Regions from separate parts of the Homo sapiens genome. Here regions 1, 2, 3, 5, 6 and 7 are each linked to region 4. The links are contacts of gene promoters, found by promoter capture Hi-C in blood cells and fetal thymus (Javierre and others, 2016). All regions are on one chromosome and are shown on one strand. Each heading gives the region's core, a stretch centred on a gene start or on the middle of the fragment in contact. The rest is flanking DNA. Distances are from core to core; before and after follow the strand shown. Region 1 overlaps ARL15 (ARF like GTPase 15). Region 2 overlaps ARL15 (ARF like GTPase 15). Region 3 overlaps ARL15 (ARF like GTPase 15). Region 4 holds the start of NDUFS4 (NADH:ubiquinone oxidoreductase subunit S4). Region 5 holds the start of LINC01033 (long intergenic non-protein coding RNA 1033). Region 6 overlaps ARL15 (ARF like GTPase 15). Region 7 overlaps ARL15 (ARF like GTPase 15).

Region 1 (2,700 bases), core at 63-2,562, 650 kb before region 4:
ACTTTTAGGTAGCTAACAGTAGATTCACTCTTATTTGTTCCCCACCCCTACCACCAAACATGCTTAATCTTTCTCAATCTCCATTTGACTAATTAGTTCACAGCTAAGAAAGCATATTTTCTTTGAGCAGATTATGCCAATAGAGAAAACAGAAAAAATAGTCCAACAGGACAAACACTGTTCATTGTACACCCAATAGCCATTTATCCTTCTTGCTAAAATACCCTGGTCTGAGGCAGCAATGTGTCTAGCCCCAGGCAATGAATGAACCATGATTGGTCTAAGCCACTTAGACTCCTGTGTTCCCTGTTTTCTCAGCTTCTCTTACAACTAGATGTGGCTGTGTTGCTCGGTTCTGACTAGTGATCTTATGGGGGAGGGGGTCTGCTTGAGGTTCTGTGGGGAAAGTTTTTGCTTTCCTGTGAAAAGGGACAGATGTGGCCTTTTCCCTTTTCTACCTTCCTTTTCCCTTTTCCTCTTCTTAAACAGAAATGTGACATCTGGAGCTGATGTGCCCTTCTTACTACCTTACAAAAAAGGCCAGCTTCTTTTTAATTAAGTCTCATTTGTTTAAACCAGGGATTGACATTTTGGTTAAACCATTGGTTGGCAAATTATGACCCATTGGCTGATTGCCTATTTTTGTAAGTAAAGTGTTACTGAAACACAGCCACGTATTGACTGTGGCTGCCTTCATGCTATGACAGAGTTGAGTAATTGTGACGGAGACTATATGGCCTGCAGGTCTTAAATATTTACTCTCTGGCCCTTTAGGTTTGGTGATGCCGTTTAAAGCACCTAACATGAATTTTCTGTTACTTGTAGCCAGACACATTCCTAATGGAATCAACCAATAACCAAGATCCTTAAACAAATTAGTGACTTGGCATTTCTTCCTACTCAAATTACTCTTTTCTGGTTAAGTAGGTGTGCTCCAGATAAGCATATTCCTCATTTTGGACTTTATCTACTCCTCTTTATTTCCTTCCTGAACTCTCTGATTATCATATTCTTTTTAAAAGTAAGATAAGAGTATAAAAGTATTTCATTTGGCCGGTCACGGTGGCTCGTGCCTGTAATCCCAGCACTTTGGGAGACTGAGGCGGTCGGATCACCTGAGGTCAGGAGTTCAAGACCAGCCTGCCCAACATGGCAAAACCCTGTCTCTACTAAAAATACAAAAAATTAGCCAGGTATGGTGGCGGGCACCTGTATTCCCAGCTACTCGCGAGGCTGAGGCAGGAGAATCGCTTGAACCTGGGAGGCAGAGGTTGCCGTGAGCTGAGATTGCACCACTGCACTCCAGCCTGGGTGACAAAAGTGAAACTCTGTCTCAAAAAAAAAAAAAAAAAAAAGTGTTTCATTTAAGCGCTGCCTAAAACTAATGTCAGCTCTTTGATATTCCAATCTTTTAACTGCCCAAGGAATTATTTTCTAATGCTCAGATAAAATTGTCAGGGCTTTCACTCGGTGAGTAGGGTCTATTCATGGATCTTAAAACCTGAACCGATAGAACAGCTCTACAGCTCCTTGTATTCTGCTCCCAACCTTCCTGTCCCCTCCAAACTTGTTGCCCTTTGTGGTCTGGTGGAAGCAGGAGAAAACCCTGCAATAGCCCCCACTCTGTGACATTTTGGAATACTTTGTGCATACCAAACAAACCACTAACTTGATTTGGGAAGATAAACTGAAAATACATTTCTAGTTCAGTAATAGCTATAATTGGACAGTCTGTCTTTTGAACAATAAAAATAATCCTAGTTTCGTTTTGTGTAAAGATATAACATCTTATGTGTGACTGCAAAAATAAGCAAAAACTACTTATTAAAATATGTGTATTTTCATTTTGTTTGCTGACAGTGTCAGGTAGTAATTGTGCTGGTTTTGCAGACTCTGTAATGTGTTATTGCAGAAAAAGCACTAGATTGGGTTCTATGAGACTGAATTAACCATGAGTTGTTTGTCAACTGAATTAACTTCTCTGTGCCACAGTTTTGCATCTCAAGGAAAAGAGATTGAACTATGTGGCATATAAGGTCTCTTTCAATTCTAATATATTTGTATTTGTAAATATTCTTCAGGGTGGCTAGAACCTACTTGAGGATTAGTCAATTCAAATAATAGCAACAGCAGCAACAACTGCAACAAAACTTCCTTTGGAAAATCAACATACTTTAGTCAGAATGGCCCTTTAATTTTTAAGGCCCAGATGCCTCAAAGGATTTGTCATGTACAGTTATCATTTGTTGTCAGAGGACTATTCTGGGGGATAGAATGTTATGGGTGAATTTGGGTTCTGTGATGGCCATTTGCAATGCTTTAGCTTGATAATCAAATATAATATATTTCACAATACATTTATCATTTTGTTGAAATAACGTAATGAGTGAAGCCATTGTCTTGAAGTACAAGTTTCCAAGAGAATATTCGGAGCAAATTGGCTGGAAAGTGAGTGGATTATAGTAAAATAAAATAGATAATAGGCATTATTTTTAATAAAATGTTCTTGCCTTGCTTAAGAAATATAGTTCATGAAAAAGAAAATTATAATTTGATTGGGAGGATTTTATGGTAATGATGCCTGTGTCACAGAATCTTACAATATATTTTGAAGTGGGTACGTTTAAAAATGTCTTGCTTTTTAGAAGAATACTTAATAACAAAGAAAAAGCATATTTTTGTTAATTTTACTTGTTATGC
Region 2 (2,700 bases), core at 196-2,695, 690 kb before region 4:
TGCATGTTGCTGATAGCATGGAATATCATTTCTTGTGTTCAATAAGGAAAAATTCAGAGAATTTTAAATTAGTCTTTTTCATTTATTCATTAAACAGTTGTTTGACGTGGTCCTCTGCTTCACTGGTTGTCAACTTTGATTGACTATGGGAATCCCATGGGCAGCAAAAGGCCAATATCTAGGTCTTACCCCAGGGATTCTGATGTACTAATTGGTTTGTGGTGTGGCCTAGCATTGGGATTTTTTAATGTCCTCCAGGGTGATTCTATTGTGCAGACAAGGCTGAGAACCACTGCTCTAAAGCTGATTGTGTTCTTAATTGGGGACACTTCATGCTTACCTTATTACACTACAGGTGTTCTTAAACAGGACAGTGTGGTGGACACTGAAGAAGTTAAAATCTACTTGTTGGATCCTTATTCTTGGAGATTCTGAATCAGTAGGTCTGAGGTCTTTAGGAATAGCTCCTTAGGTGGCAGTTCTGATGACATCCCTTTATGAGACACAGATACAGAATAACCATTTAAATAAACTTTAGAAATCTAGTAAGGGTACAGATAAGATGCCAGTACAGTTTATCAGCAGCCTCCGTTTTCTGCCATCCCTAGGTGCTGCAGTGGAAATACCATATTACAAACTGTTGCTGTTGACTAATGCTAATATTCAATTACTTTTTAAAAAGCCTGGCTTTCCTTAATTTAATTCTGCTTGTGGAAAAACATACTCAACAAACAAGAGTGGGAAAATTAAATGAAAATACCTAGATGTTTGTCAAAAGCCTACAGACGTATCTCTTTCTTTGCACTAAAGTTCAAAGCATGCTTAAGAGTTGTTTGGCCACCTTAGAATTTTGCAGTGTGTGTTTTATCATAAAAAGTGTGAGCCAGTAATTAAAGCTTTACATCATTGTTTACTTATCTTCTTCCTTCTTACCTGAATTAGGGGAGGGGCTTTCAAGTGAATCACTTTCTAAGCCTCTGTGCAAATTAGCAGTGTTGTGTTTCCTTCAGCTTTTCCAAGCCATGCTTAATAATTAGGAAGATAGGCTGATTCAATTTAATATAGCATCTGATTGAAAGCATTTGAAGTTAGATTACTAAATATAGTAAAACTATATTTAGTTAAATAAAGTTAGCCTGTCACTGTTAGGAGGTGGACCTTGCTTTTTATAACTTCTTTCAGAGAGTGAATTGTGTTTCAGGTAGACTAAAATGGTGACCCTAGTGACCTTCACTGTGCCTACTTGTAAGTCTAGATCTCTCCAGAGCTGGGTTGTTCTGGGATCAGAAGATGTGGGATTTCCAGTTAGTTTCACAGCCAACATGGTTCTCCCTCCAGGCTGCCCCCAGGACCTGTGGACTCTGCTCCATCTTCAATGGCCCTTTGTCACCAGCTCTTGGTGTTTTTTTTGGTCCCGTCCCTACTACCCATGTCCCTGTACTTCTCCCTCTCTCCACCATCATGTCTCTCATCAAGACCACCAAAATCACAGACCTTCGTCTCTTAGCGACCTTCATTTCTACTCCTCAGAACTTACTGAACCTTGTTCTTCCCACTTCAGAGACTGCACAATCAGGTATTTTCTTCTCCAACTTTAACTAAACTTGCTTCTCATCATCATGCTGATTTTGAAAATCTGATCTCTTTCCTGTTCTCCAATTCTGTCAGCCTCACCCAAACCTGCTGCTTTTATTTCCCTGCTTAGCCAGAAGCCCTGTGATATGGTTTGGGTGTTTGTCCCCCCAAGTCTCATGTTGAAGTGTGGTTCCTCGTGTTGAAGGTGGGGCCTGGTAGGGGTGGTTGGATTGTGGGGGTGGATTTCTTATGGTTGATTTGATGCTGTCCTCTTGGTGCTGTCCTCATGATAGTGAGCTCTCAGGAAATCTGGTTGTTTAAAGGTGTGTGGTGCCTCCCTCGACCCCCACCTCTTGCTCCCACTCCTGCCATGTGACAGGCCTGCTCCCTGCTAGCCTTCTGCCATGATTGTAAGCTTCCTGAGACCTCACCAGAAACAGATGCCAGTGCCATGCTTCCTGTACAGCCTGCAGAACTGTGAGCCAATTAAACCTCTTTTCTTATAAATTACCCAAACTCAGATATTTCTTTATAGCAATGCAAAAATGGTCTGACACACCCTATGACCAGTCATTGAATATATTCTCCACAGGACCCTTGAGATGCAGTCCCAGGCACAGCCACTCTAACTCGGTTTTTCTCCTGGCAGGCTGCCAATTGCTGTGTGACAGAAACTGCTATAGCCCTGTTGGCTGGCTTTGATACTGATTAATTACTTACAAGCTCTCCTGGCTCCTCTGTCGTGCCTTAGGAATTCTGTGTATTCCTCAGACAACTAGGGATTGATTTCCTTCTTTTCTCCTACAGCTGTTAAAGTTTTTTTTTTTTTTTTTTTTGCTCTTAACCACAACCACACTTCTCCTTTCTTACTCTCAGATATGACCTCATGAACTCCTTCACTTAGAAACTAGAGATGGGAATTCTTGCACTTTTACTCTCCTTCAAGTGTTTCTGTATATTGTTACCTATCTCTCTCCTTCCTTATTCCCAAGGTTAATTGGTTACCTCTACTCTTCCCGTTCCCTTCTGAACTTTTTTCTCTGTTATCTTCACTTCCTCTTATATCTTCTTCTGTCTTTCCTTCTTCGTTGACTCAAGTATCTTCTATTCTGAAAAATACCTTCT
Region 3 (2,700 bases), core at 96-2,595, 630 kb before region 4:
ATCATCTCTAGGAGGGTTGAATATGAAGGGACATTTCTTTTTTCCTTTACACATTTCTGATTGATCAACTTATTCATTACAGGTATTACTTTAGACATGAGAAAAAATAGAGAAAAATTAAGTGTGTGTCCTCATATGTGCTTATAAGTGGACTAGAGATAAAAGAAAAAAGGTCTCCTGAAATCAGAGGTTGGGCCAACTGTCAGATTAGTGGAAGGAGCAAATTATTTCCTTCTCTAGTTTGTGAAATGACTGTGGGGCCTTCAGTTGTTGTAGTAGCTATTTAAACCATCACCATGTTTTGTAACCTTTTAAAATTCTCCTGAGCTTTTTGCATGTTTCTTAATGAATAAAGGATAAATACAGTAAAGTCTGGGTTGATTTTTTTCTGTATTTTCATTGATGATGTCTGAATATAGGATCTATCTTGAGCCTTGCTGCCCAGGTATATATTGACCACAGGTGGCTTAATTTGGCTTGTACATAGTGAAGTACATAGTACATTAGCAACATTAACTAAGTATTTTGAGAGTACAGAATGTAGTGTAAGCCTTAAGTGGGGAGAAGTAGTTATGGACCTTGGGCCTTGAGAAATAAGAATGATATTGCCTGTTGGACAAAAGGAATGTAGATTTACTTTCTGAGTAAATAAACATCCTGAATGTCTCGAGATATCTCCTTGTGACTTCCATCTACTAGTAGAGGAGGACTGAGACACCCTACTCTTTGTGGCATACCTCACTACGCAGGCCTTTGGGATTTGAAGGAGCATGACTAGAAGTCCTCTTGGGAAGTTGGTAAAGCTAAAGGTAAAATTCTCCCTTGGTACAAGTTAGATCAAACATGGTTCATTTTGTGCCTGTGCTGTATCAGGTATCTGAAGTAGATTCTTTCCAAGCTTAACCTTTCAGACAGTTTTTAATCTATAAATATTAGTGTTTAAAAGTCAAAACCCTGTGAGGTCATTCTACCATTTCTGTTACCTCCCTCCTCTCCTCACGTTACCACAAAGCTATATGTTTCTTTTTTTGCCAGGTCTAAGATTTTTATTAGGGTGAGATTAGATTTTTCATATTAGGTGGCTGGAAAGTACAGCCAGCTGAAAACTATCAGCCATTTAGACTACATGCTTCATTTGAATTGTGTTTCTGGATGCAAGTCAAGTGTGACAACTGAGTTTCATAACTTTCTCTAGCTTGATTCAAAAATGTTTTAGGGCCAAAATACTTCTGAGGTCTTTTCTATCCTTTCTTGGTGAGGCCGTATGGAGGTTATTGGGGTTAAGACTATGTTGTGGGTCTCATAAAAATGATGGAGAGGTGAGGAGCCTTGCATATTAGGCTTGAATCATCTTTTATCCTTGCCTATGTTCTTCCAGGAATGACTTATCTCGTCTTGTTCAAAATGAACATCGCAGTGGGTCCATGCCTCTGATAATAATTGATGTCATGTATTTTGTTGGCTTTAAAAATGCTTAAGTTCTTTGATTGAAGTTATAGCTTTTAGACAATATAGAGCTAAATTATGAAGGGGAAACATGTTTTCAAAGAAGACTGGGTGGATAAGAAGGAACTAAAGAAAGTAATAGTCGGAATAATTCCAATGCATGGCGATTAGGATTTTAGTGTTCACTACCATAGTCTCCCAGGGGACACCCACATCCAACAGAACTTGTATGTTTTTATTTACAGTTATTAAATAACTGTATTTAATATCATCCATGCCCCCAATTATTTAATATCATCCTAGCCCCCAATTATTCAGTTTTTTAAAAAAATTCAACCAAGCTTTTTAAGGGAAAGCATTAATTTTATAAACCTAGATCTGAGCAATTTATAACAGAGCCATGTGAGCTATTTCAGGAAATCAACAAATATTTATTGAGCACCTATGATGTGCTAGGCAGAGTACATAAGTCGAAGTAGTTACAGTTCTGGAAAAAAAAAAAAAAATGAAGGCTTTATTGTAAAACAATAGGAATAGATTAGAGCACAGGTCCCCAAGCTTTTTGATGCCAGGGACCAGTTTTGTGGAAGACAGTTTTTCTATCGACTGGGGTGGAGGGGATGGATTCAGGGTGATGCTGTTCCACCTCACATCATCAGGCATTAGATTCTCATAAGCAACCTAGATCCTTCACATGTGCAGTTCACAGTAGGGTTCCCGCTTCTATGAGAATCTAATGCTGTAGCTGATCTGATAGGAAGCAGAGCTCAAGCCACAATGCTCCCTTGCTCACCTGCTGCTTACCTCCTGCTGTGAGGCCTGGTTCCGAACAGGCCATGGACCAGTACCGGTTCACTGCCTGGGGGTTGAGGACCCCTGGATTAGAGTATTACAGAAATATTTAAGAGGTGAAATCAATACAAGTAAGAGACTTGTATCAATTTTGGACATTGTGAGAGACACAGGATTGAGGATAAGCTTTGGATGATGGATTGGATGATGCTGCAATTTACTGAAATAGGAAATATAGAAAGAAGGAACAAGTTTCTTTTGTGGGTGGTAGGATTGATACTGAAATTGGATTTTTATTAGTTTGAGAGTACTTAAGGGAGATCTAGATAGAGATGTTTAACAGGAAGTTTAAAAACTCTAGTTTGGCTCTCCAGAGCAGGACGTTGAAGCAGATATGGGATTCAGAAGCCATCAAAATAGTAGAAGCCATGGGAATGGAAGGAATGTCCTACGTGAAACATG
Region 4 (2,700 bases), core at 182-2,681:
ATCACGCCATTGCACTACAGCCTGGGCGTCAGAGTGAGAATGTATCTCAAAAAAAAAAAGAGAAAGAAAAAGGAAAAATACTTTCCATATATGGAACACTTAATTACAAACATCATTTGCCTTTCCCCAATCTTAGCACCCTTACTTTTGAGTGACTCTATTCTATGTATTTAGTAATCGTTTAACTAATGCTTTCAAGCCTTTTCATAAGCCACGGACCCTACGGGACACTCTCTTCTTTCCCACCCAACACCCACTATATTTAAACCTTAATAAAACTCATCCTTAAAAATTCTTCCGAATTAACTCATCCTAATTCTCTGCATTCCATTTATATTTAACACTAAATCAATTAGCATTCTACTAGACCTTCCTTTCAACTTTTAACCACTTGCATCCACCTCCTACCCCCTTCAAATCTCTCCATCCAGTCTTTCCAATCTTTGTTCTAATATGTGTGTGTATGTACGTATAGCATTAGTACTATAATTTAAAAAACTCCAGGAAATTCTGAAAAATAGAAAATGGAAGGTTAATACAGCCAAAAAAAAAAAAATCATCACAAAAATGCTTCAAGGAAAAACAGTAACAACTCAATCAACTGACAACTGAATCTGACAATACTTTGGAAAAGTACTACTTTAGGTTCTCAAGGACGCAAAGAGCCCTCAACAACTCAATTCAATCCCTGAATTATTGTGAGGCTTTAACAAAATCCCTAGAAAACCTCCAGGCATTACCACCAGCCTTTTAAAAATTACCTTCCAATATTACTAGCAGTGATATTTTTACTAACACTGAATTCCAAACAAGTTTTCCTCCCAAGCAGACTGATGAATAAACAATCTTCCTATGCAGAAACCAAATTAAAACCACTTAAAACCATGGAAGGGATACAGTGATTTAACCCTTCTGTAAGGACTGGAGTGGTGGGCAAACAGGTGACAAATGGAAGGGATGCAGAAAGTGGAAACAGAAATCAGTGAGACTCCTCCCCTTCTCTGAGGGCTAAGGTTCAGCTTGCAGCTCCGGAGGCAAAACCTCCACGGACCCTCTCCCTCAGCGACAAGCCGAATACGAAAGCTTCCAGAAAACCACAGGTCCTCCTCCCCGGCCTCGCACTCACGCCCTCACTCGCCTGGCCAACGCCCATTGATAGCAGACAGTCCCTAGTCCGCCCGACTTCTCCCGAGAAAAGGGTCAACAGAGGACGCCTTCCCCGAGGCCTCCTCCGGAACTCAGCCAGCAGAGACTCCGCAAAAATGGAGGGACCCAAGAAGCTTGAAGAAAAGTGTGAAAATTCTATTACCTGGTCGGAACCCTGGAAACGGAAAGGGCAGCTACAGCCACTGCCCTTCTCCGCCACAACGTCTGCCTCAGTACCACTGACATTGACACCGCCGCCATCTTGCTGCAGGCAAACGCCAGGATGAAAGGACGGATCACCGCAAGGGACTAACTTCCTTCGTTCTCAAGCCAGTGCAATCGCAATGTTGCGAAATTCTTTGGGATTTTATTTTCTTTTTAATACTGGGGCTTAAAAAAAGAGGGGAAACGCTTAGTTTAAATAAGTAAGAAGAAAAATGTGCGGGAAGAAATGCAGAAGTGCATTAACTGTAAATATTACCACCATAAAGTGTAATCTTTACTGCTTGTTAGGACTGGTGTTTTACAATGATAACGAAAAGACCAAAATATACTTGCATATTTAAACACCTGCAACTCGTAATTTATTGAAGAAATTAGGATATTTGGGGCTGAACCCACTGGAAAAGCTGGAGAGCTCTTTGGGTCCTTGAGAACCTGCAGTAGTACTTTTCCAAAGTATTGCCAGATTCACTTTGCAAGCCCTCAGGACAGGGCTGTATTCAGTTTGATATTCTGTAGTAGTAATGTTCGTATTTTCCAAACGAAAAATCTGGATACGTGATCTGGCAAAGGATTATTTTTTGACATGTAGATTTATATGAAGAATCAATAGAACATAATATTTGATGTCACTGTTTCCCCAGTAAATCCTGAATGTGTGTGTGTTCATAATCCATAGACATGAAGAATGATATTAATGCTCCATGCATATAAAACAAAAATTATCTTCCAATACAAGTGTTGGAAACATGTTTGTATTGTGGACTTCCGACCTTAAAGAATAATGACTAACTGAATTATATAAAATAAAAAGCAGGTTAGTTTTGGGTTTTGTTTTTTAAGAAATTTGTTTAAAGAGTTAGTACTTTCCTGCTTTTAAAATTAAGCACATGAAAACATAACCTTCATTAAATAAATAGGAACAATAGGAGGATGGGGAATGACATAGTTTGGCATTATGGACCGTTAAAGGAAAACCCAGTACATAAGGGAAAGGGAGAAAGAAAGAGAAAAAGTCATACTCAGGGAAAGAAATGCACAAGATGAAGGAAGGCAAGGGAGAGATGCCTCAGAGAAAATTTTCTTTCAAACTTTTCATTTTGAAATAGTTATAGATTCACATGAAGTTGCAAAGATAGTACAGATGTCTTGTGTACCTGTTTCCCCCAGTGATTACATCTCGTATAACTCTAGTACAGTATCAAAGCCAGGAAACTGGCATTGATATAAAGTATTTGTGTAGTCCTATGTCATTCTACTACATATTTTGTGTAACCACCACCATGATCAAGATACAGAACTATTCCACCCTCACAAAGATCTCCCTAGTGC
Region 5 (2,700 bases), core at 178-2,677, 760 kb before region 4:
TCTGCTACCAAAGAGAAGTGCAGAGATTCTCCATTTATGTGCACTGCCATCTGTCACATGGAGACATAGTGTTGTGTCCACTACGTAACATACAACTAAAGCTTGTACATTACAATGCTACCATACAACCATCCTGGAGGGCAGGCATGGTTTATATCAATGGAAGTGGGCAAATGAACCAAGCAGCCTGTTGAAACGTTTGAGAAATTTAATGATTGATCACTCACTTTAGTTGCAGCAGAGGGTCTCCTACGGATGCATCTTATGGCTTCCATATAGGTAATACAAAATATAGAGCTTAGTGGCACACAAAGCCAGCTTACTATTCCTGGATTGCCCATCTTACCATTTCTTCTGATTCTGAGTTATGCTGCAGAGAAGAATCAACAAAGCCATCATCTCTCTGCTGCCCTTTAATTTTCCCTTTTGCTTACTTTGCTTTATTTCATCAACATTTTAAAGATGATACTGTAACTCCAAAGTGGAATAATTTTCCTGAGATCCTTAAAAGTCAATGGTGGAAGCAGGATTCTTCTACTTCTCCAGACTAAGTCAAAGGCACTGTCTATAAAAACACAATTCCTCCAACAAGGCTTTCAGTACATAGGATAGCCAGCACTTCAGTGTTCAGTATATTTGTTTTTGTTTTATTATTTTTTAAAAAGTATTTTATTTATTTATTTTTTTTAAGATGGAGTCTCGCTCTGTCACCCAGGCTGGAGTGCAGTGGTGCAATCTTGGTTCACTGCAACCTCTGCCTCCCAGGTTCAAGCGATTCTCCTGCCTCAGCTTTCCAAGTAACTGGGATTACAAGTGAGCCACCATGCCCAGCTAATTTTGCATTTTTAGTACAGATGGAGTTTCACCATGTTGGCCAGGCTGGTCTTGAACTCCTGACCTCAAGTGATCCACCCACCTCGGCCTCCCAGAGTGTTGGGATTACAGGCATGAGCCACCTCACCAGGCCATATTTGTTTTTAATCCTTACAACAACCTTGAAGAAATTACCTATATTGTTTTTAATTTCCATTTTAAAGATGAGATAACTGAGTTTCAGAGGTTAAGTATCCTTCTTAAGGTCACACAGCTAATAAAGCACCTGGGATTGAAATTTAGCTCTGTCTTCTGACAAAGCTTGATCTTAACCCTTGAGCTAACTGGATCAGAATTATATGAAATAGCTGTGCCACCGCATGTGATTATGGTGTGGTAAGTTAGCCATTACTCTTTAGACCATTTGAAATCTCATGAAGTCACATGCCTTGGTCCATTGCTTCTTTCATTTCCTATTAAGAAAACTAGCCAAACCTCTTAGTCTGTAACATTATGATGCCCTTTGTAATGCCAAAATGATTTCTACCAATTCCAAATTGCTTCTGTTCTCTGAACTATTACCTTGGAGGCAGCCTGAGAAGTAGGAAGATATGGTATAATATCTAGCATGCTGTTCTTCCTTGATGTCTTCCAGCAGGTCTAATAGTACCACAGGCACACCATCAGTCAGCCATAACGTGTACCAGAACATACACACACACAAAGGGAATAAAGAGAGGCCTTGGTGGAATAAGCACGTCCAGAACACGTCCATTCACTGATGTACTTTGGCAGCAAGCATACAGTACTGTCTTCTCTAGCTCTCATTTGCCCAGAGAATTCAACACTACTCAGGTACATAAAAAACCACAATTATGTTAGAGATTCCTATTTGAAGAAAAGCTTCTCAAGGACAAAGCATTACAATGAATCAGTCTACATGGCATGGCATTAAACACAAGATGCAGGCAAAGACTTCAAGGTCATGGCAAGGAGACAGGGAAAGCATTGGAAAAGCTTGGCTCTCATGAATGTGTTAGTGTCTTTCATGAACCCATTAGTTAATTAATTATTAAGATAATAGTTAATTCTTATGCAATTTTTTTTTTCTTAAATGCCCTCTTTTCTTTCTAAGAAGAGTAACGTCAGGTTTAAGCAATTGATTTAAAAGTAAACTGTCTCTGGGCCAGGCACGGTGGCTCATGCCTATAATCCCAGCACTTTGGGAAGCAGAGGCAGGAAGATCGCTTGAGGCCAGGAGTTTGAGACTAGCCTAGGCAACATAGTGAGATCCTGTATTAACAAAAAATTTAAACATTATGTGGTCCCAGCTACTTACAAGGCTGATGTGGGAGGCCCAGGAGATCGAGACTATAGTGAGCTGTGATCACACCACTGCATTCCAGCCTGGGTGAAGTGAGACCCTGTGTCAAAAAATAAAAAAATGAAATTAATTAATTAATTAATTAAACTGCTTCTGGAGTATTAAACTTTAAAATAATTTATTTTGAAAGCAAAATTAAATCACAAGGATTTCCTCCTTTGTTTCATTATAGGCTTTGCAGACTAGTACTGAATGGAAAGGCACATTTGAAGGAATGAGCAGAAAAGGAGAACAGTAGTATGCCACGATTAATGCATTCAGGAAGGAACACAGTTACTGGTGTGGGTGCGCACAGACTCCTCCAGTCTCCTGCCAAAGAGAACCCTGAACTTAGAAACTCAATGCTTTGCCTTTTGCTTCCAAAAATTATTTCTTGCAGTATTGACAATGAAGCCAATATACATAAAAGGAATTGTGGTCAGGTTAGAGAGAAAAGAAAAAAACAGACTGATGTGTTCCGTATTGTCACAGAATAAACAGATCAATAAAACAGAGGAGAGCTC
Region 6 (2,700 bases), core at 150-2,649, 670 kb before region 4:
TCCATGTCATTACATTATTTTATCTGATAAGGTTGAGTGTATTTTTACACTGTTTTTCTTATGTCATCCTAGAGAAAGATGCATAGAATTAAATCCTTTTAACATTAACATACAGAGTTAAAAGTATACCCCAAGCATTGGTTCTTATCCTTCAAAGGTCCTTTTTCAGATTTTGTGAAGGCCATTGGAATGCCCAGGTTGTAAGTTGAGTGTAGTTTTAATATTTGGAAATTGAACTAATAATAATCCCAACTTTATCCATGTTAATGCTTCTATGTATTTAAAGTTATAAGTAGTTAATAAGACATAATTTGAACAGATTATTTTGGATAGCCGATGTATAATCAATTCATAGGAATTTAAGAAAGAAGTTTTTTGTGTGTGACCTCAGGTTTACTTTTGCATTTAGTTATGAACTACATTCAAACTAGATTTGGTTTCACATTTTCTTAGCTCTTTTAAAAACATATTATCAAAAAATTAAAATTAATTTCCCTATGCTCATATATTATTATTTTATAATCTGAATTTTCTGGGACGGAGTTGTAATTCTTCTGACAATCCAATAAATTTATTTTGTGTTCTGTGAGCTTACAAGTCCACTAGAGGGTGCATTTTACTCTTTTTTGACACAGACAGAAATTTAAGTCCATAATTTTGTTTCACTTTCACAGAGCTAGTTGGGTTAACAGCTTTGGAAAGCAAAGTCCCTTAAATTCTTAAACATGGACACTAGGAGACTGTTGTACAAAAACATAATTCATTAGTATAAAGCAACCATATCATTATTAAAATAGTGGCCTTACCAGTGGATGCTATTGTAGGATGCAGAAGGGAGCACGGTGGGGTGGGGATGTCTAGGGAAGCTTCATGGGCAAGATGGGATCTGTAGTGTTCAAACACCTGGTGAAGTCAAACTTTTTGGTCTCAGGACCCCTTTACACCATTGATAATTATTAAGGCTCCCAAATAGCTTTTATTAATGTGGGTATTGATATTTAATGTTCTAGCAATTAAAATTTTTTTTTTTTTTACTAATGCATTTAAAAATAACAATAGTAACGGGCCAGGCCTGGTGGCTCAAGCCTGTAATCCCAGCACTTTGGGAGGCTGAAACGGGCGGATCACCTGATGCCAGGAGTTCGAGACCTGGCCAACATGGAGAAACCCCATCTCTACAAAAATAAAAAAATTAGCCGGGCTTGGTGGCACGCGCCTATAATCCCAGCTACTTGGGAAGCTGAGGCAGGACAATTGCTTGAATCAGGGAAGCAGAGGTTGCAGTGAGCTGAGATCTTGCCGTTGTACCAGCCTGGCAACAGAGCGAGACTGTCTCAAAAAATAAATAAAAATAAACCCATTACATGTTAATATGAATAACATTTAAATGAAAAAGAACTATATTTTCCAAAACAAAAATTAGTGAGAAAATGGCATTGTTTTACCTCTTTGCAGATCTTTTTAATGTCTGGGTTAATAGAGGGCAGCTAGAGTCTCATATTTGCCTCTGCATTTAATCTGTTGTGTGTTTTGGTTAAAGTATGTGAAGAAAATTCAACCCCACGCAGCTATGAAGTTGGAAAAGAATATTTTAATAGCCTTTTCTGATAATTGTGAGTAGTCTTCTGTGATTCTATATCTAAACAATCAAATGGTAGTTCCTTAGGGGCTAGTTGCCATGTGGAACCTGAAACCATATCAGTGAACTTATTCTAGTTAGTTATGTTAAAAGCCAGTAGTCTCTCTTGGACCTTGAAAGACTCTTTTGCTCAGGCATGACTTTGTAATATTACACATTGGTCTTGGAAAATATTGGTTCATCTAGTTATGTAAATCTTCCAAATGTTAACACAATATCAGTCTTGTAAATATGTCAAGTTCATGATGGCAGATACAAGTTTTCTAAGAATTTAATTTTCATTTGAAAGCTTGAATTTTATCACTGGCAACAAATACTAACAGTTGTTTTCCTTGAATTGACATGCCCACTTCATTTATTTTTAAGAAAATATCTGTGAAATACCCAAGTTCGAATAATTATAGTTTGCCTGTAAGTCATTTTTTCAAGTAAAAATGGTGTTCCATGAAAAGAGAAGTTAGTTAGGTTCACGAGTACTTTTCCTTGAGACAACCCTTAGACTTTTACATAGAGCAGAAATGTTTTGTATGTATTTCATCACACAGAATAGTAACGTGTCAAGATTTAATAAAATTGATAGTTTACTGCTTCATCAAGGCCATTTTTATGTAAAACACAATGGCAGCTGGTAGAGTTTGGTGCCACCAGCATGATTTGTGCTAAAGGGCCAGCAGTTTCACTCACTCACTCTCTCCATCAATGTTAATGCAAACACAATGCAAGAGGTAAATAATGTCTTAGTATGATGACATTAGTTTTGATCCTGCAGATCCTCTGAAAGGGTCTTGGGGACCCTCAGGAGTCCATGCACACATTGAAAACGGCTGGACTAGGAGAAGCATAGAACTGGGTGTTGTGAAGCCATTGCAAACAAGGATGGTGTATGAGGGCAGGGGTGAACATGAGTGTCAGCCGAACAAGGGGCTGAGGGTAGACTCCAATTGATGGCTCTTGTGGGAATAGAGGAAATCAGAGGAGAAAAGAATGTGTCTTGAAGGCAGAGCAGACCGGAGAGGTCCCTGAACACAAGTTCTGAGAAGCAATTTTGTGGCTTTCCTGGT
Region 7 (2,700 bases), core at 162-2,661, 610 kb before region 4:
GTTGTGTGTGTTTAGTGTCTTGGGCTGAACTGGGATAGAATGGAGCATGTGGAGGCTGCTGTGGGCTGTTGGAAGTACTACAGTCTGGGCTGTATATTGGGTGGCCAGGCCCTTGTCTAAGGAAGCTAACTGTCACTTAAGATACCTTGGAAAAATGAAAATCGCAATGAGCAGTTATTTACCTGTATGGCGCCTTTCTTAGTAGCATGATGTATTGCACCCAGGCCTCATAACATCCTCCTGAAGAAAGGAAGCGGCAGAGAGTGTTAAAATGTTACTGGTTAATCGTGGGGAAACTGAAGCATGGATAGGTTTATGAGGCTTGAACAGAGTTACACAATGCCTTAGTGTTTGGCCTGGGAATGAGGCCTGAGTTTGCCGCTTGCTGTCAGGACTGCCGACAGCATTGTGTTTCGCATTGTACAACAGTGAAAGGGGCTTACTCTTAACAATGCAAGAGCTGCTGTAGGAGACACACACAATGAACTTTGGTACAGTATAGTCTAGAGGCCAAAATGAGTAATTTTAAGTAAATTGACTATAGGATCCAAAGCTTCATTAAGTTTTAAAACAAAAAACAAATGAAAACTCTTTACAGTTTTTAGGAACTGACTCAGAAAACATGACCATTCCTTCCCCATTGGAAGTAGCATACTGTTGAAAGTTTTATCTTGTTGACTCAAAATCTGACACTATTCCTGTTACCCATAGGATGATTTATTCAGTCAGTTCAAATACATGTTGATTTCTAAGAGTCTGTGATTTATGTCAAAGATTTTGCCTTGTAATAACTATCAATCTAGCCATTAAGTTCCAAAGAACCTTATTTCCACAGCCTGTGGTTTTGTGGGGAGGCTTTTGTTTTATTCAGTTTTGGTTTGGGTTCTTATAGAACAGCTGGAACTATAGAGCCTGGACTTAGAGAAAGAGCTTGGGGAGACGGAGGGGGAGATGTCATGTTGGATGTCCTTATGACATTCGGTTATATGATTGAAACCATGGGACTGGAGATGATATCACTGGTGAGAATATAAAAAGGGAAGAGAGACCAGGCTCAGTGGCTCACGTGTGTAATCTCAGCACTTTGGGCAGCCGGGGTGAGTGGATCACCTGAGCTCAGGAGATGGAGACCAGCCTGAGCAACATGGTGAAACCCCATCTCTACAAAGATACAAAAATTAGCTGGGTGTGGTGGTGCACACTTGTAATCCCAGCTACTCGGGAGGCTGAGGTGGGAGGATTGCTTGAGCCTGGGATTTGGAGGTTGCAGTGAGTGGAGATTGCACCACTGCACTCCAGCCTGAGTGACAGAGACAGACTGTCTTAAAAAAAAAAAAAAGAGAGAAAAAGAAAGAGAAGAGAAGGCTGGGCATGGTGGCTCACACCTGTAATCCCAGCACTTTGGGAGGCTGAGGTGAGTGGATCACCTGAAGTCGAGAGTTCAAGACCAGCCTGGCCAACATGGTGAAACCCCGTCTCTACTAAAAATACAAAAATTAGCTGGGTGTGGTGGCGCATACCTGTAATCCCAGCTACTCAGGAAGCCGAGGCACGAGAATCACTTGAACCCGGGAGGTGGAGGTTGCTGTGAGCCGAGATTGTGCCATTGCACTCCAGCCCGGGCAACAAGAGTGAAACTCTGTCTGAAAAAAAAAAAAGAAAGAAAGAAAGAAGAGAAAAGACAGTGGAGTAGAATATCACTGCTATCATTGCAAAATCATCTTTTATGTCAGAAGTGGCTTAGGTGACCTAGAATAAACAGGTAAAATAGATATTAATGGAGTTGGCTACAAAGTTTTTCTACTCTGGATTTTAAAAAGAACATGAAGATGAAATTCTGGAGTGTTTGGCAAAAATATGAGTGATAACGACATGAATAATTTAAACCGGATGCTCTAGCAATCATTCACATACAGTTTCATTTGATATTTAAGGTTTATGATAGTTTGGGCCAGGGTAGTCAGGCCAGCCCTCCTCCAGGAGATAGTCCAGAGGAATTCTGGCAAGGAGCTGAGTGAGAATGAAGGCCTCTAGGGCAGGAATGGGATCTCTCCTCCTTGAACCCCAAACAAGACCAACGCAGCCCAGTAAAAGAAACTGTGTGACTAGTTTTGTTGTCTGTCCTAATTGAATGTGGAAGACCACTTCTAAGTCTGAACAGCTGCTAGCCATGGCCATCTTTGAGGGAACAGACACATACACAAATAAACCTATCTCTGAGAAAAACTCTCATTCTGAGTCTGGGAGACAGACTTTATAAAAAAGCTTGTTAAAGTCAGACAGTATCAGCCAGCCTTCATATGAATCCATGAAGTGATGTGTTGGCGTTTAGAATGCTGTTAGTAGTTATGGTCATTAATCTTGTGGGAGAGGGTGTGCTGGAACTAAAGGAAGATCAGAGAAGAACATCTCATAGGATGAAGACAGACTGAAATAAGTAGGACTCCTCAGGCTTGAAAAGACTGAGAGGAAATACAATTAGCATGAATAAACCCATGAAGAATATGGGTCATAGAATTGTTTACCAGAAGCAGGCAGAACCTCTTGAGAACAGAGGAAAAGTGAATTTAGGACAAAAAGAAGCTCTAATTTACCAAGAAAGTTGATCCTGTACACCAAAACCACTCTTTTGGGAACTAGGCTAACTAATGGCATTGAAGCGAAGTGAAAAAGTCAGCGGTTTCTTATTTTGACAGTATT

The links. Contacts are between HindIII fragments. The CHiCAGO score rates a contact against its expected background, and 5 or more counts as called.
Region 1: a contact is called between a fragment that was not itself captured here and the fragment with the promoter of NDUFS4 in region 4, in 8 of 17 cell types (erythroblasts, M2 macrophages, M0 macrophages and 5 more). The highest score is 11.8, in erythroblasts.
Region 2: a contact is called between a fragment that was not itself captured here and the fragment with the promoter of NDUFS4 in region 4, in 1 of 17 cell types (erythroblasts). The highest score is 5.1, in erythroblasts.
Region 3: a fragment that was not itself captured here is called in contact with the fragment with the promoter of NDUFS4 in region 4 in 5 of 17 cell types (endothelial precursors, M2 macrophages, naive B cells and 2 more); the score reaches 7.9 in endothelial precursors.
Region 5: a fragment that was not itself captured here is called in contact with the fragment with the promoter of NDUFS4 in region 4 in 1 of 17 cell types (erythroblasts); the score reaches 6.8 in erythroblasts.
Region 6: a contact is called between a fragment that was not itself captured here and the fragment with the promoter of NDUFS4 in region 4, in 7 of 17 cell types (megakaryocytes, endothelial precursors, naive B cells and 4 more). The highest score is 9.2, in megakaryocytes.
Region 7: a fragment that was not itself captured here is called in contact with the fragment with the promoter of NDUFS4 in region 4 in 2 of 17 cell types (endothelial precursors and total CD4 T cells); the score reaches 5.7 in endothelial precursors.

The regions. Positions count from the first base shown.
Region 1 is chr5:54,210,123-54,212,822 of GRCh38, reverse strand. All of the region lies in intron 1 of ARL15 (ARF like GTPase 15), which reads left to right. Among named protein-coding and RNA genes, the nearest start is that of ARL15, 99 kb to the left of the region's middle. The HindIII fragment of the contact is 5,856 bases long and covers 1-2,700 here.
Region 2 is chr5:54,249,384-54,252,083 of GRCh38, reverse strand. The region is part of intron 1 of ARL15 (ARF like GTPase 15); the gene reads left to right. Among named protein-coding and RNA genes, the nearest start is that of ARL15, 60 kb to the left of the region's middle. The HindIII fragment of the contact is 1,094 bases long and covers 899-1,992 here.
Region 3 is chr5:54,192,978-54,195,677 of GRCh38, reverse strand. All of the region lies in intron 1 of ARL15 (ARF like GTPase 15), which reads left to right. Among named protein-coding and RNA genes, the nearest start is that of ARL15, 120 kb to the left of the region's middle. The HindIII fragment of the contact is 889 bases long and covers 901-1,789 here.
Region 4 is chr5:53,559,370-53,562,069 of GRCh38, reverse strand. It overlaps NDUFS4 (NADH:ubiquinone oxidoreductase subunit S4), which reads right to left and starts at 1,431. Exons shown (of 5, transcript NM_002495.4): 1 at 1,310-1,431. The coding sequence starts at 1,407. RefSeq lists an enhancer at 1,030-1,529. The HindIII fragment of the contact is 3,063 bases long and covers 1,283-2,700 here.
Region 5 is chr5:54,320,451-54,323,150 of GRCh38, reverse strand. LINC01033 (long intergenic non-protein coding RNA 1033) reads right to left here and starts at 2,207. Exons shown (of 5, transcript NR_126379.1): 1 at 2,153-2,207. The HindIII fragment of the contact is 582 bases long and covers 1,137-1,718 here.
Region 6 is chr5:54,232,655-54,235,354 of GRCh38, reverse strand. All of the region lies in intron 1 of ARL15 (ARF like GTPase 15), which reads left to right. Among named protein-coding and RNA genes, the nearest start is that of ARL15, 77 kb to the left of the region's middle. The HindIII fragment of the contact is 1,062 bases long and covers 869-1,930 here.
Region 7 is chr5:54,174,298-54,176,997 of GRCh38, reverse strand. All of the region lies in intron 1 of ARL15 (ARF like GTPase 15), which reads left to right. Among named protein-coding and RNA genes, the nearest start is that of ARL15, 130 kb to the left of the region's middle. The HindIII fragment of the contact is 1,712 bases long and covers 556-2,267 here.